Regions from separate parts of the Homo sapiens genome. Here region 2 is linked to region 1. The links are contacts of gene promoters, found by promoter capture Hi-C in human tissues and cell types (Jung and others, 2019). All regions are on one chromosome and are shown on one strand. The core of a region is centred on a gene start or on the middle of the fragment in contact, and the rest is flanking DNA. Distances in the headings are between cores, read along the strand shown. Region 1 holds the start of KRTAP10-1 (keratin associated protein 10-1). Region 2 holds the start of ITGB2 (integrin subunit beta 2).

What was found. Contacts are between HindIII fragments. The study calls those that stand out against the background at their distance.
Region 2: a contact is called between the fragment with the promoter of ITGB2 here and the fragment with the promoter of KRTAP10-1 in region 1, in 3 of the 25 tissues and cell types used here (dorsolateral prefrontal cortex, lymphoblastoid cells and mesendoderm cells).

Annotation. Positions count from the first base shown.
Region 1 is chr21:44,535,603-44,542,805 of GRCh38, reverse strand. KRTAP10-1 (keratin associated protein 10-1) reads left to right here and starts at 2,611. Exons shown (of 1, transcript NM_198691.3): 1 at 2,611-3,825. The coding sequence starts at 2,656. The coding sequence ends at 3,504. All of the region lies in intron 2 of TSPEAR (thrombospondin type laminin G domain and EAR repeats), which reads left to right. RefSeq lists enhancers at 3,209-3,873, 4,227-4,726. The HindIII fragment of the contact is 21,448 bases long and covers 1-7,203 here.
Region 2 is chr21:44,917,337-44,924,539 of GRCh38, reverse strand. It overlaps ITGB2 (integrin subunit beta 2), which reads left to right and starts at 3,641. Exons shown (of 16, transcript NM_000211.5): 1 at 3,641-3,719. It overlaps ITGB2-AS1 (ITGB2 antisense RNA 1), which reads right to left and starts at 3,505. Exons shown (of 3, transcript NR_038316.1): 1 at 3,213-3,505. RefSeq lists a silencer at 4,991-5,050 and an enhancer at 6,134-7,046. The HindIII fragment of the contact is 46,650 bases long and covers 1-7,203 here.

The DNA of each region.
Region 1 (7,203 bases), core at 1,362-3,861:
GGTTTGGAGGGTTCCTTTTTTTCTTTTTCTTTTTTCTTTTCTTTTTCTTTTTTTTTTTTTTTTAACAGGTCTCTTTCTGTTGCCCAGGTTAGAGTGCAGTGGTGCAATCTTGGCTCACTGCAGCCTCTACCTCCCAGGCTCAAGTGATTCTCCTCCTTAGCCTCTTGAGTAGCTGGGACTACAAATGTACCACCAAAGTGGGCCAACTTTTCATATTTTTTGTAGAGATTGGGTTTTGCTATATTGTCCTGGCTGGTCTTCAACTCCTAAGCTCAAGCAGTTTGACCACCTTGGCCTCCCAGAGTGCTGGTATTACAGGTGTGAGCCATCATGCCTGGCCTAAAGATTCTTAAATGCTCTTTGCATCTATGCATTTCATCAGGTTAAAGTTCTTGTCCATTACATCTTCAAATATTTTACTACCCCTATTTCACTCCTCTCCTTGTAGGATTTCAATCATTTTTCCCATAAATTTTCACAAAATATAGGCATGTTTATTGCTCCACTTTCTTTATTTCCCTCTTTTCTTTCCCATCTCTGTATTCAGGCTTGAAATTTCCTCATCTCCCTTCCTTTACTAATCTTCTCTTTGGTTTTGTCTATATGTTGTAAAGCTAAGCTACCTAGTTCTTAATTTCAGCTATTGTGTTCTTCGTTTCCAGAATTTTTGTTTGATTCCATTTAATAAATCCAGTTTGACACTGAAATTCTCCATTTGTTCTCTATTTTCTTGAGCAAGTTAATCAGCATTAAATTCCAGTTTCACAATTCTAATATCTAGATCTCCTGCACGTCTGTTTCTCTTGTTTGTTTTTTTCCTCTTGGTCTTTTGGTCAGTTGGTCTTGTCTTCTAATATCCCTAGTAATTTTTTGACTGCATGAAGGACTTTATGAAAATTTATAAGATGATTTGAGCCTCTGTTGATGCTGCTGTCTCCAGAAGAGATCACTTTTGTTTCTGGGAGGCAGTTAGGCTACAGGCAGATCATATGAGTTCAGTGCGAGTTTATTTAAAGATAGGTTTCATTCTTTCTGGTTTTTCCTTCCTCCTAGGGAGTAGCCCTTCACTTACATTCAGCATTTCCAACTGAAAGCCTAGGGTGTTTTTGCTAGAATCCCTCCACCTTGTCAGGTCCTGAACTCTGTGGTTTTTTTCTTCTAATTCCATGAGACTACTAAAAGCTCTGCTCAGCTGATCAGGCTCTCGGCCTCTTGGCTGTGGTCTGTAAATTGGTAAATGCCTCAGTAAGAAAATCCACAAGGAATATTGGACTCACTTCTGTGCAGTTTCTCTCTAATGCGGATTCACTCACTCAAGTCTCAGCTGTCTTGATACCTCCCGGCCCCTTCGAACAGAGATTTTGTTTGTAAACCAGATTTCCTAATATTTCTCAGCTAGATGGCCAGTCTGATGTAAGCCAGTTCCCCACACACGAAAGGAGAACTTGACAGAGCATTTTATACAGCATAAGAAAAAGGTGGCACAATGGAATCGCGTTCAGAGCTCAAAATTACTCTTCAATAATTTCTCCAAAAAAGTTTATTATTTCAGCCCATTTTTATAAAGGCTTTTCCTTGGGCCAGGCATGATTTTAGGCCTTTGAAGACTGAGTGGTGAACAAGACAAACACACTCCCTGCTCACATGCAGCTTACGTTTGAAGAAAGGAAGCTGAGGACAGCAAGGACAATGAACAGGAACAGGGAAGACACGTGGTGCAGAAATACTGATGATGGCCAGGCACCGGGCTCACGCCTGCAATCCCAGTACTTTGGCCAAGGCAGGAGGGATCACTTGAGACGCCATCTGTACAAAAAAAAAAAAAAATAAATTTAAGAATATTGATAACGGGACTTGAGTTATCTATGGTTGAAGCACATCATAAAGCTATGGCCTTTAAGAGCAGAACCAAATCCATGGGCCAGTTCAAAACTTTTCTTTCCTGTCCGAAACCCAGTCCTATCCCCAGCGTTCCCACACCAACGTCTGAGTGGACCTCGGGGAAGGCCGTGGGGAGGGGCATGGCCTCTCCTTCCTTGCTCCCCTTCTCCCTGTTTGGGGCTCTAATTTCTTCAGTGATGGGGATGGGGGAAGGAATGTGCAGGGCCACCACTGTGGGGTTCGCTGGCCACTGCTGCACCTTCTCTCCGGCTGCTCCAGTGATCCTGTGCTTCTACCAGCTGCTTCTGCCTCTTCAGTGAGGACCCGCTTTAGGGAGGAGACGCCCCCACGATCGTGAGTGGGACAGCTCTCACCCTGGCATGCCACACTTTGCATAAGGCTGAAGGGCCACCCCTGCCTCCGCAGCCCCCTTCTTACAACCCGGACTGCACTGGTGGCGTGCTGGGACCAGGTCCACCTCCACTCTTGCCCCCAGGGATCCACATGGGACAGGCTACAGCCCAGACAGGACAGGAGATTTATGACCTGGGCCACATCACAGGCAAACAAACATCCCTAGTCATGACACACGCCACCTCTCAGCAACCAGGAAGGGGACGCTGTGGGCCCTGGAACAACAAGGCCAGAAGGGGTATAAAAGCAGAGCCCCACGAAGCTCACACACTCACTCACACACTCAGTCACTCACACACACACTGACTCCCACACTCACTCACTCACACCTCCCGCAGCTCACCTCCTCCCCACCCCAGCATGGCCGCGTCCACCATGTCCGTCTGCTCCAGCGCTTGCTCCGACTCCTGGCAGGTGGATGCCTGCCCAGAGAGCTGCTGTGAGCCCCACTGCTGCGCCCTCAGCTGCTGCGCCCCGGCCCCCTGCCTGACCCTGGTCTGCACCCCAGTGAGCCGTGTGTCCAGCCCCTGCTGCCAGGCAGCCTGTGAGCCCAGCCCCTGCCAATCAGGCTGCACCAGCTCCTGCACGCCCTCGTGCTGCCAGCAGTCTAGCTGCCAGCCGGCTTGCTGCACCTCCTCCCCCTGCCAGCAGGCCTGCTGCGTGCCCGTCTGCTGCAAGCCTGTGTGCTGCCTGCCCACCTGCTCTAAGGATTCCTCTTCATGCTGCCAGCAGTCTAGCTGCCAGCCAACTTGCTGTGCCTCTTCCTCCAGCCAGCAGTCCTGCTGTGTGCCTGTTTGCTGCAAGCCTGTGTGCTATGTGCCCACCTGCTCTGAGGATTCCTCTTCATGCTGCCAGCAGTCTAGCTGCCATCCAGCTTGCTGCACCTCCTCCCCCTGCCAGCAGGCCTGCTGCGTGCCCGTCCGTTGCAAGCCTGTCTGCTGCAAGCCCATCTGCTGTGTGCCCGTCTGCTCTGGGGCTTCCACTTCATGCTGCCAGCAGTCTAGCTGCCAGCCGGCTTGCTGCACCACCTCCTGCTGCAGACCCTCCTCCTCCGTGTCCCTCCTCTGCCGCCCTGTATGCCGGCCCGCCTGCTGTATGCCTGTCTCCTCCTGCTGTGCCCCTGCCTCCTCCTGCCAGGCCAGCTGCTGCCGCCCGGCCTCCTGCGTGTCCCTCCTCTGCCGCCCCGCGTGCTCCCGCCCGGCCTGCTGAGGCCTCTGCTCAGGCCAGGAGTCCAGCTGCTGATGGGCACCCGCCCTGGGCCAGCTGGGCTCAGTTCCTGACCTGGGTTAGGTGGCTTCCCCCACCTAGGACGGGTCCCCGTGTCTCCCCTGTGCTGAGGTGACCCCCCCTCCTTGCTCCCAGGAGCCTCCATCCTTGCAGCTCCCCAGCTCTTGCCTTCCAGCAGGTGCCCACCTGCCTGCTAGGTCCCCTGTCCTCCCTCCCAGCTTCTCTGCTCTGGGTCACTTGGCCTCGACTTGAACCTCTCAGCACCTCCTCCTGCTCCCCAATAAACTCTCCTTGGTCACCTGATTCTCTTTTCTGTTGTGTTCCTGGGGGACACATGGTTTTGAGCTGACATTGGTCTCCTCCAGCCATGATTATTTTTAGGAATGAGTGACTTAACCTAGAAGTCACAGGGGACAGTGGCCTAACTCCTCCAGGGGGTCACCAGGTGGGACTCACGGTCACTCCCAGGAAGGCTCAGTCCCAGCTCAGCCCCTGTGCCCGGGTCTTCCTGAGCCTGGTCATTCGCTGTCATGCCCTGGGCTGTGGGGCTCTCCAGGCCCCAGGACTGTCCCACCCACTCTCTCACCTGGGAGAGCCCACACTGCAGGGTCACCTTCCGGGAAGCTGCCCTGGGGTCCGGGCACTGCAGCCTCCAGGCCTGGTCACCCTCCCTGTGTGCCGCCCGCCCGAGGGTTCTGCCCGTTTTAGCAGCAATGCGAGGGGAGAGGGAGGGGCTGCTGCACCTGCGCAGGAGACAAGGGACTCGATGGGAACAAAAGCATCATGGGGTGGGCGGATGGAGGCACAGGATTCCCCAAAACCCTGGCGCTGCCCAGGTTCTCCTCTTGGGGGGGGGGGGGGCAGCAGTTTCCACACAGGTGTAGGGACAAGGAGCCTGGGTTCCCACAGATGATGCCGGTGCGGGCACACAGTCAGCGACACTCTCATCTCTCTAAGGCTTGGTCCACGCGGGGAGCATGAGCTGCCTGTGATGTCCTGTGGGAAAGGCCGTCAGCGGGGACAATGGTAAGATCAGGCAGCGCATGGGGCTCCGCCACCCTGGGTGGGTGCAGAGCAGTCAGTCCTCAGACTGTGAGACAAACTCCTCCAGGCCAGCTGCAGAGACCAAAACGCTGATGAGAATGCCCGCCCCTGGGATGCTGCAGTCACCCCACAGCCAGGCCGGCCGCAGCCTGATGGACATGGTGCTGCCACGGCTGTGGTCAGAACAGGCACAGAAATGCCACAGAAAGTGAGGTGGAGCCTGGGGGGCGGGGTCTGCGTGGTTGCTGCCCAGGGCCCTCAGTGGCTGGGGGACCCCGCGTGACCCCGGCTCAGCCTGATCTGCTCTCAGCTCCCTGCCCTCCGCACTGACGGCTGCTGGGAACCCACTATGGCCTAAATGCATGGCCGTCCACACTGAAAGTTTCCTGTTCACATTCCTAGCCCATTTCTTATCAGGCTATGTGTGTTTTTCTTGTGGATTTAGGGCTGGGGATCCTCTGTCCATCATATGCCCTCCAAATATTTCCAACCCATCATTGCTTCTATACAGCACACTCCCCGAGATTGGAAACAGGCCTAATTTTGCTGATATTGGTTTCATTGTTATTGCTTAGATTTAACTTTTTGCCCCATTTGCTGATATGACTTGTGTGAGGTATGACGTATTAATCTTTCTCTTCCACCAATAGCCAACTGTCCTTTTTTAAAGTTAGTTTATTCTCTCCATCTCCCATTTGAAACATCTCTTTTGTCTGAGAAATGTTTGTATAGCCTGCTTCTGAAATCCCTATTTTGTATTTTGTTCTATTCATCTCTTGATCTATCCTTGCATCCATTCCAGCTGTTTTATCCATGTTATTCAGCTTCATAATATATCCTAACAGCTCATAAAGAAGGTGCCACTATCTTATTTTCTAAAAACGTTGGTTCTAGCTTGTTCTCAATTAATTTTAGAAAGCTTTTCCAGTATTTTTTAAACTGCTATAATTTTGATTGGGATTGCATTGAGCTTTTAAATATGTAGGAGGAAACTAACAGCTCCTAAGGAAGGTGCCACTATCTTATTTTCTAAAAACGTTGGTTCTAGCTTGTTCTCGATTAATTTTAGAAAGCTTTTCCAGTATTTTTTAAACTACTATAATTTTGATTGGGATTGCATTGAGCTTTTAAATATGTAGGAGGAAACTATAATTGTTCATCTTGTCTTGCCTTGCAGTTACACAGTACAATAGTTCCATTTAGAATTCCATCATTTTCTTCTATAGGTCTAAAATATTCCTCTTTGGATTAAATTCGAGGTATTTCATAGGGATGTTTTACTAGTGTGAATGGGGAACAGTTTTCTATTATGTTGTCTTAGTATATAAATCCTGTATATATGTCTATATAAATTTTTTACATATATATTGTCTTCATATCAAACCATATGTTTAGCTCCTTTCCTTTGCAAGTTCTCTTATTAGTTCTTACAGTTTGTCATTGATTTTCTTGGATTTTTCTATGTAGATGAGCTCATCATTTGAAAATAAGGAGAATTTAACTTCTCATTTCCAATCTTTAAAACTCCCATTTCTATTGTTTTTCCTGTGGCAACATTACTTTGAACACCCAGGATGATGCTGAATAAAATTAAAAGAATCCTTGATTGTTCCTGACTTTCATGAGAAAGCGTCAAAGGTTCACCACTACACGCAGTGTTTGCTGTGGGGTTTAAGTAGAAACCTTTTATTTTTAAACCAAGTCTTTCTATTTCCTTTTTGCTATGAATTTTCATTTACTAGAATCAAGGATTGTTTTGAGAGGGAGGAGTGGATCCTAGAGACATGGTGCTACCTGAGGCATAGTTTCTAAATCTCCCTAAATCCCAAATAGAAACAGAGAGAATTACCAGATAGAAAAAGAAAAACCCATGGGTTCCATTTAGGACAGAACTTAATGGCAAGATATCACCCAAGGGCCCAAAATGCGAGTGGGTAGGAACCAGGCCCAGAAGTCAGTGTTGCTGAGGTCTGTGCCGGAGGACGCCGAGGGAGCACTGGCAGGAGCAGCAGCCTGAGGATGGGAGAAGCCCAGCACCGCCCGGAAAGGGGGCCAGAGTGTGAACAGCCACTGCAGCTGGGCAGGCCCCTCCTCTCCATCAGCCATGGAACACAAGCGGCTGCAGGAAGAAGCCTGACAGGGCTGGACTCTGCCACTGTGAACTCTTGAGTCTGAGCTACCAGGGCTTCCTTCCACAGAAGAGTCCCTCTGTCTCCCAACCTGAGGGTAAGGAGCTTGGAGTGGAAGCAAAGTTGGGCAGAACAGAAAGTCCACTTCCAATGGAAAAAGACCTAATAGCCCCATAGATAGTTTTTTTTTTTCTTTTTTCCTTTTTTTTTTTTTGATAAACATAGAAATTGATCCTTCTGGTCTTAAAGCTCAAAACTTTGCTTTATCTGTAATCCCAGCACTTTGGGAGGCCGAAGCGGGCGGATCACCTGAGGTCAGGAGTTTGAGACCAGCCTGGCTAACATGGTGAAACCCCATCTCTACTAAAAATACAAAATTAGCTGGGTGTGGTGGTGTGCACCTGTAGTCCCAGCTACTTTGGAGGCTGAGTCAGGAAAATTGCTTGAACCTGGGAGGCAGAGGTTGCAGTGAGCAGCTACTTCCAGCACGCTACTGTGGGAATACTGC
Region 2 (7,203 bases), core at 2,392-4,891, 380 kb before region 1:
AATTGTGTTTAAGTTGGAGACGAATGGTTACGTTCCTCAAATTCTCTACCTGCCAAATTTGCATTTCTATTTGATTTTTTCTTGTTTGTTTGTTGTTGTTTTTGTTTTTGAGTAAGAGTTTCCTTCTCATCACCCAGGCTGGAATGCAGTGGCACAATCTCGGCTCACTGCAACCTCTGCCTCCTAGGTTTGAGTGATTCTCCTGCCTCAGCCTCCCAAGTAGCTGGGATTACAGGCATGCGCCACCATGCCCAGCTAATTTTTGTATTTTTAGTAGAGACAGGGTTTTGCCATGTTGGCCAGGCTGGTCTTGAACTCCTAACCTCAGGTGATCCGCTCACATCAGCCTCCCAAAGTGCTGGGATTGCAGGTGTGAGCCACCGCGACTGGCCTGATGTGTTTATTTCTGAGAGAGATCTGTTAGAGATATTTGCTGTTTGGGGCTGTGTCAGTTTGCTTATATATTTGTCAGTCTTTGTTTTATATATTTTGAAGTTCGGCACACAAAGGATTATGGCTGCTGAACTGTCTGTGGATTCTGACTCTCATTGGCTACATCTTCCTTTGTCCATTTGATGCATTTTGCTTTGATTTCTATCTTTTTGATGTTACACGATATCTTCGTTAGTATTTTCTAGCACATACGTGTATTTTCCGTTTCTTTATTTTCAGCCTTCAGTGTTCTCTTTTAACAGTTTATCTGATAGAGAGCCTTTCTTACACTTTTTACTTTTTAATTGTGATAAAATATACATAACATAAATTCACCATTTTAACCATTTGAAGTTATGCATTTCCGTGGCATTAAGGACACTTAGTACTGTGCAACCATCACCACCAACTTCTCCAAAACCATTTCATCTTGCAAAACGGGAACTTTATACCCGCGAAATAATAACTTTACACTTCCTTGAAATGTTTTTTTAATCTTACTACAAAAAATTTCACACATCTACAGAAGTAGAGAGAATAGATTAGTGAAGCCCCATGTCCCCAACAGTGGCTTCAAAAATAATCAACTCACAGGTGATCTTGTTGTATCAACACCTCTCCCGACTCTCCCCCAACCCAACCCACCCCTCTTTATTGGGAAATAAATCTGAAACATTATACTGCACCATCTGCAAATATTTCAACATGTAACTCTAAAAGATGGGGACTTTTTAACATAACCACAAACCATTGTCACACTTAAAACAATTAACAATGATTTTAAAATATGGTCCATGCATTGCAATTGGTTCTATTAAGAGATTAAATCTCTTAATCTAAAGGGTCTCTCTCCCTTCGTCTCTCCTCTTGTACTGTGCTGTTTGCCTTGTGAGGGTTTCTTCAGCCTGGATTTTGCTAATTGCATCCCTACGATGTCATCTAACACACCCTCCTGATGCTTCTTTGTAGATCTAAAAAGTTCGACCTGATTCAGGCTCAATAGTAACATTTGTTCTTTCTATTTTTCTTGATTTCTATTGTTATTTCATCAAGACTAATTCATTAAAGGTGTGTGCATAACGTCTGCTGCGTCCGTGACGTTCGCAGCGAGGGTCATTGCTTACTTTAAGTCATCAGCGGGTGTAGTAGAATGGTATTCTCTTTCTGTCCTTCTTCATTATTTTCTAGGCTAAGTCTGTAATGAGAAGATACCCTTGACAGAGAACATTTCATTGGAACTTGTTTTGTCTCTTTATTTCTAAAACCCAACGCAAGACCTTGTTGATTTAAAACAAGAAAATGTAACCCATTCACAGGTGCTGTGATTCCTGATGGGTTTGAAATTATTCCCAATGTTTTATTGTTTGGTTTTTATTTACCTTTCTTGTTTGTTCTATTTTCCCTTACTTTTTTCTTTTAAAGGATTTGCCTTTTTTTTTTTTTTTTTTTCTCAGTTACCCAGACTGGAGTGCAGTGGTGTAAGCATGGTTCACCGTAGCCTCAACCTCTTGGGCTCAAGCAATTCTCCCACCTCAGCCTCCCAAGTAGCCTGGACCATATCGCGTGCTACCATGCCTGGCGAATTCTTAGAAAATTTTTTTGTAGAGATGAGGGTCTGGGTCTCCAAATGTTGCCTAGGCTGGTCTCGAACTCCTGGGCTCAAGTGATCCTCCCACCTCGGCCTCCCAAAGTGCTGGGATTACAAGTTTGAGCCACCATGCCCAAAATAAAGATTTGTCATATTTTTTTTCAGGTATATACATGCTATTTTTATTCTTAAGGAGACTCTTGAATTGTTAGCATATATACTTAGATATTTTCTATCAAAATGCCCACTGACAAGCATCTATATTCCTCCCCAGATAGGATGGAACGGCAATGTGCTCCCTGGCCCCTCCCAACCCAGTCCTCTAGGCGTTTTGTTTCACAGCGTTAATATTCTTACCACTATTTTTTAAATCAACAGGTTATGACATCATAATTTTTACTTATTTCTTTGCCCAACTTTGTATCATCTGCTCTTGTATTTCTCATGGATTTCTTCATGTCTATTTCTGCAAGACATCTTTAAAACAGAGTTTAGGAGCCGGGAGCCATGGCTCACGCCAGTAATCCCAGCACTTTGGAAGGCAGAGGTGGATGGATCACTTGAAGCCAGGAGTTCAAGACCAGCCTGGTCAACATAGTGAAACCCTGTCTCTACTAAGAATACAAAAATTACCCAGGCGTGGTGGTACATGTGCCTGTAATCCCAGCTACTTGGGAGGCTGAGGCAGGAGAATTGCTTGAACCCGGGAGGCAGAGGTTGCAGTGAGCTGAGATCACGCCACTGCACTCCAGCCTGGGTGACAAAAGCAAAACTCTGTCTCAAAAAAAACTGAAAACATAAAAATAAATAAATAAATAAAACAGAGTTTAGGGTAGTAATGTGTCTGAGTCCTTGCTCTGAAGATGTCTGATTTGGGTTTTTTTTCTAGGTATAATCTCTTTCCCTCCTCTTCCTCCTCCTCCTCCTCTCCCTTCTCTCTCTCTCTGAGCCTGTAGTATTTTCCCTTTCGTGTTCTGTGGTATCCTCCTAATGTCCCTAGTTAACAGGACCTCATCCATCCATCCCTGGGGTGTTCAGTGGCCTCGCAATCCACGTCCCCGCCCAGATCCGCAGCCTTCCTCCTGTGACCTGAGTGTCTCCTCCTCGCTGTCCCTGTTCTGTCCCCTCCCGCCCTCACATGCAGGTGGATGTCAATGCGTGCACGCACCCAGGTTTTCTTGCCTGTTCCCACCTCTTTATCCTCCTTGGCTGGTTCCTCCGCTCCATTCTCTGGCTCAGGAATTTGCTCCCCAGGGTTTTTCATTCCGCTCTGTAGCAGAATGTGCTACTGTTGCTTTCCAGCATCAAACTTTTCACTCCCATGGCCTCTGTGTTCTTCTTCCTAATGGGTGCCCTTTCTGCCTGGCGCTCCTGGAGGCCGGGCCCCTCTCCCAAGTGTGAATCTGATGGAAGCAGGTCCTTCTCGCCGGGACCTCATGTGAGAAATGACATGTCCCACCTGTCTCAAGGGGCCGCTCTCTGACATCAGAGCTGCTGTAGAGCGGAGAGGGGCAGGGGTGAAGGGCCACGGTGGTGCAACCCACCACTTCCTCCAAGGAGGAGCTGAGAGGAACAGGAAGTGTCAGGACTTTACGACCCGCGCCTCCAGCTGAGGTTTCTAGACGTGACCCAGGGCAGACTGGTAGCAAAGCCCCCACGCCCAGCCAGGAGCACCGCCGAGGACTCCAGCACACCGAGGGTGAGTGTGCAGAGGCCCCGCTATGTCCACGGTGATTTTTGGAGGGAAGCACTCTCCTGCCCCAGCCTGGAGTGACCCTGGTGGCCCTGCTTATAGCCCCGGCCCAGGGGTGTCTGGCAGGAAGGGGTCTCCAGACCGTCTGCTCCAGGGTCCCCTTTGAGACCCGGCAAGGGGAAGTGCCTGCCACCAAGAGCAGAGCCACATGGTGTGCTGGGAGCGCTTGCGGCTGAGGATGGGGCCGGCATGGGAGGACAAGGGGCTGTGAGGCCGGCAAGGCCAGGAAGAGGCTGGGCCCACAAGCCCCTAGGGGGACGGCTGGGGGGTCCTGGTGCTCCGGGCTGGGCAGGAGGCAGGTTCCCGGGGCCTCCTCTGTGAACCTGCTGCGCCTGCCTGTGTTAGGCCCTCCTGTCTGCATGCTGCCCCGCCTGGCTACAGCGATTCCATCTCCAGATCGACTCGCAGTGTGTGGTGTGTGATATGGTGTGGTGTGGTTCGTGGTGTGTAGTGTCGTGTGTGTAGTGTGGCATGGTGTGCATGTATGGTGCACGTGTGTGGCATAGCGTAGTGTGGTGTGTGTGTGTGCATGTATGGTGTGCGAGTGTGCGCATGTGATGTGGGGAGTCTGTTGTATGTACATGTATGGTGCACATGTGTAATGTAGTGTGGTGTGGTGTGGCACATGCTCCATGCTCCTCTGGGACCCTCGAGCTTCCCTGCCTCCTCCGTGGGGACCCCTGGGTGACGTCTTGCTGTAGGGGAGCGGGCACCGCTGTGCGATTCTGGTCGAGTTGGTTCAGCTGGTGACCCTGGCCTCCCCACAACAGGCTCCTGGAGGCCATTCCCAAGGTCCTGGTGGGAGGGGGATTGAAGCCACGCCCCTGGGTCCCAGGCCCACCTGGCCCCCTTCCCCCAACACTGCACTCTTGGGGCCAGCCCTCCCCATGCATCCTCCACCCCTGGCACCACCCCTTGCACCACCGTCCCCACACCCAATCCCCCCTCCCCTGGATCTGGGAGCTGGGATTCTGCCCTGCTGTCCCTGTCCATCCGGGGCCCCTCTCCTCTGTCAGTTCCTGGGTGGGGAGAAGGAGGGGTGGCATGGCTGCAATGGGGAAGGGGGGGGATGGCCGGAGAGCTCAGCCTGGGAGCGAGCTGTGGGGGCATAGGGGACACTCGCTGTCACTCGCCTTCCCCGTGACGGTGGCGCAACGCCTGCGGGTTTGGGGGCTGAGGCCGGATTCTGGAGGCTTCACAGAAATGAGCTGCTAGAAGCTCTGGGCTGTCTGCCGTCACCCCAGCGTTTCACCATGAGTGAAGCCCAGCTCACTGCAGAATCCATGCCCAGCTCACTGCAGAATCCCCGGGGGCCAGCACTTTACCAAGAGTGGCCTCCAGACTCCACATTTTAGGAAGGAACTCCTTCCCCATCCAGCTCACAGCAGAATCCCCAGGGTCCCTGCCAGCCTGGCACCCAGCGTGCCCCTCAGTATTCTGGGGATGAGTGGGGGAGTCCCTCTGCTGGGAAGAGGTCCCTGGCTACGTCCCTGCAGGGCGGCGGCTGAGCCCATGCCTCGGCCCCAGGGCCAGTCCCCGCCGGGTGCCATCCTGAGCAGGGCCACAGAACAGATGTCCCACATGGCCAGGACCCCTGTGGCCACCTGACCCCGGGGGGGCTGTGGCCCTCGGTGAAGCAGGTGACCGGGCGGGCTGTGGGGTTTGTCAGCTCCGCAGCGTCACTGCCGCTCAGCGTATGAGTTTCCACTCCCAGCACTCAATGAACAGCTGAGCAACTGCAGGTGCCTCCGAGTGCTGGGAGAGGGGAATGCTCAGCTCCGAGTGCTGGGAGAGGGGACGCTCAGCTCCGAGTGCTGGGAGAGGGGACGCTTAGCCACCCAAGGGCCTTTGCCTCAAGGGAGTAAATAGGGGCATTTCCTGGTGGGCGTGGGCTGGGCTGGAGAAGCAGGGCCTCCTGGCAGGGGCTGGCATGAGATCCAAACACTGCCCAGGCAGCTGGACACTCCTGAGCCTGGAGCTTCTCACCTGAACCACAGGGTGGTAACCCCTGCCCCTCAGGCGGCATCGACGTGACCTGCCTAGTGCACAGTGAGCCTGAGGCAACACGGCCACCACCAGGAGACTCCCTGGGGAAGAGGCCCCCAGACAGCGAGGTGCCCATGAAGGAAGTTCTGCACAGGGGCCGCGGCCATCCAGGAGATGGGAGGGGCCCTATCTGCACCCTGTCTGGAAGGGGCATGGGGTGAGCAGGCTATTTGGTCCCCCGTGACTCAGTTTCCCCATCTGTGAAACAGGAGGGGTGGTCTGGCCAATTGTGCGCACTCCAGCTGTCTCTATAGTCAACCGTGTAACTTGAACTCACTTCCCCAGGGCTCCTGCCAGGCCCAGGTCTGTCCACTCTGGCCCAGGCCGGGCCCCACCAGGTACCAGGGCTGTGGGACATTTGCCTCTGTGGATGGGGCAGCGTGACGCCTGTGGCGATTCCATGGAACAGGTCCTGTGTGGGCCCCCCTTGCTGCACTCGTGTCCTGTGTCAGAGAACCGTGGTCCTGCCTGAGGCCATGTCACCGGAGGCTGGCTCCCGTTCCCGGAGGAGAATGCCAGCTGCCACAGGGGTCAGTGACACAGGCATTTGCCCAGCAGGTACAGGCCAGGTCGCTGGGAAGCCCCAACTCAAGGGGCTCTGCAGTGGGCGCCTAGCAATTATGGAGCTGTGGGTGATACCCACCCCAAGCCGGACCTGGTGCCAGCAATTATCCCTCCCATTCTGCTTGGCACAAACTGGCACTGACACGGGGCATTGATTAGGTGGTTGCATTTGTCGATTCCGAGCCCATGTGTGTGGAGCCCAGGCCCTGAGCAAGCACAGAGGGCCCTGGTGCTGTCCTGAGCTGAGGCCCCTGCCCACCCCGGGCTGCGTGTTCTCTCCGGCCATTCAGGGTCTGAGAGTGCAGAAGAGTTAGCCCCAGGGGAACACCTTCCTGCCCAGCTGATTTGTAAACAGCCTCGCTGGGGACACATGTTGGTGTTGGGAGTGGTGGAGGTTTCTGTGTGTGATGGAAACTTGGGGTAGGTGTTGGGGAAAAGAGGTGCTGAGAGTCTCAGCAGAGGGCAGAGTCCAGGAGTCCTGGAGTGCAGCTCTCAGCCCCTGCGCCGTGCCTAGAGGAGAGGCTGGCAAGCCCCTGTCCCATGGATGGGTGAATGGGTGAGTGACAGTGGCAACAAGCCCATGCCAGCAGGGAGGTCCCACTGCCATGAAGCAGCGTCCTCATCAACGTCACAGTGGGAACAAGAAAGCCAGTAGCTTTGGAATCCGAAGGAGCAATTTCAGCATAATTCGTCGGCCACCATGAAATTCCATTTTTAAAATGTCCTTTATTCATTTATCACAAAAAGGGTGGAAAATACAAACAGGAATAATGAAAATTGAAAATACTCATAGTGCCACCACCCAGAGAAATGCAGAATA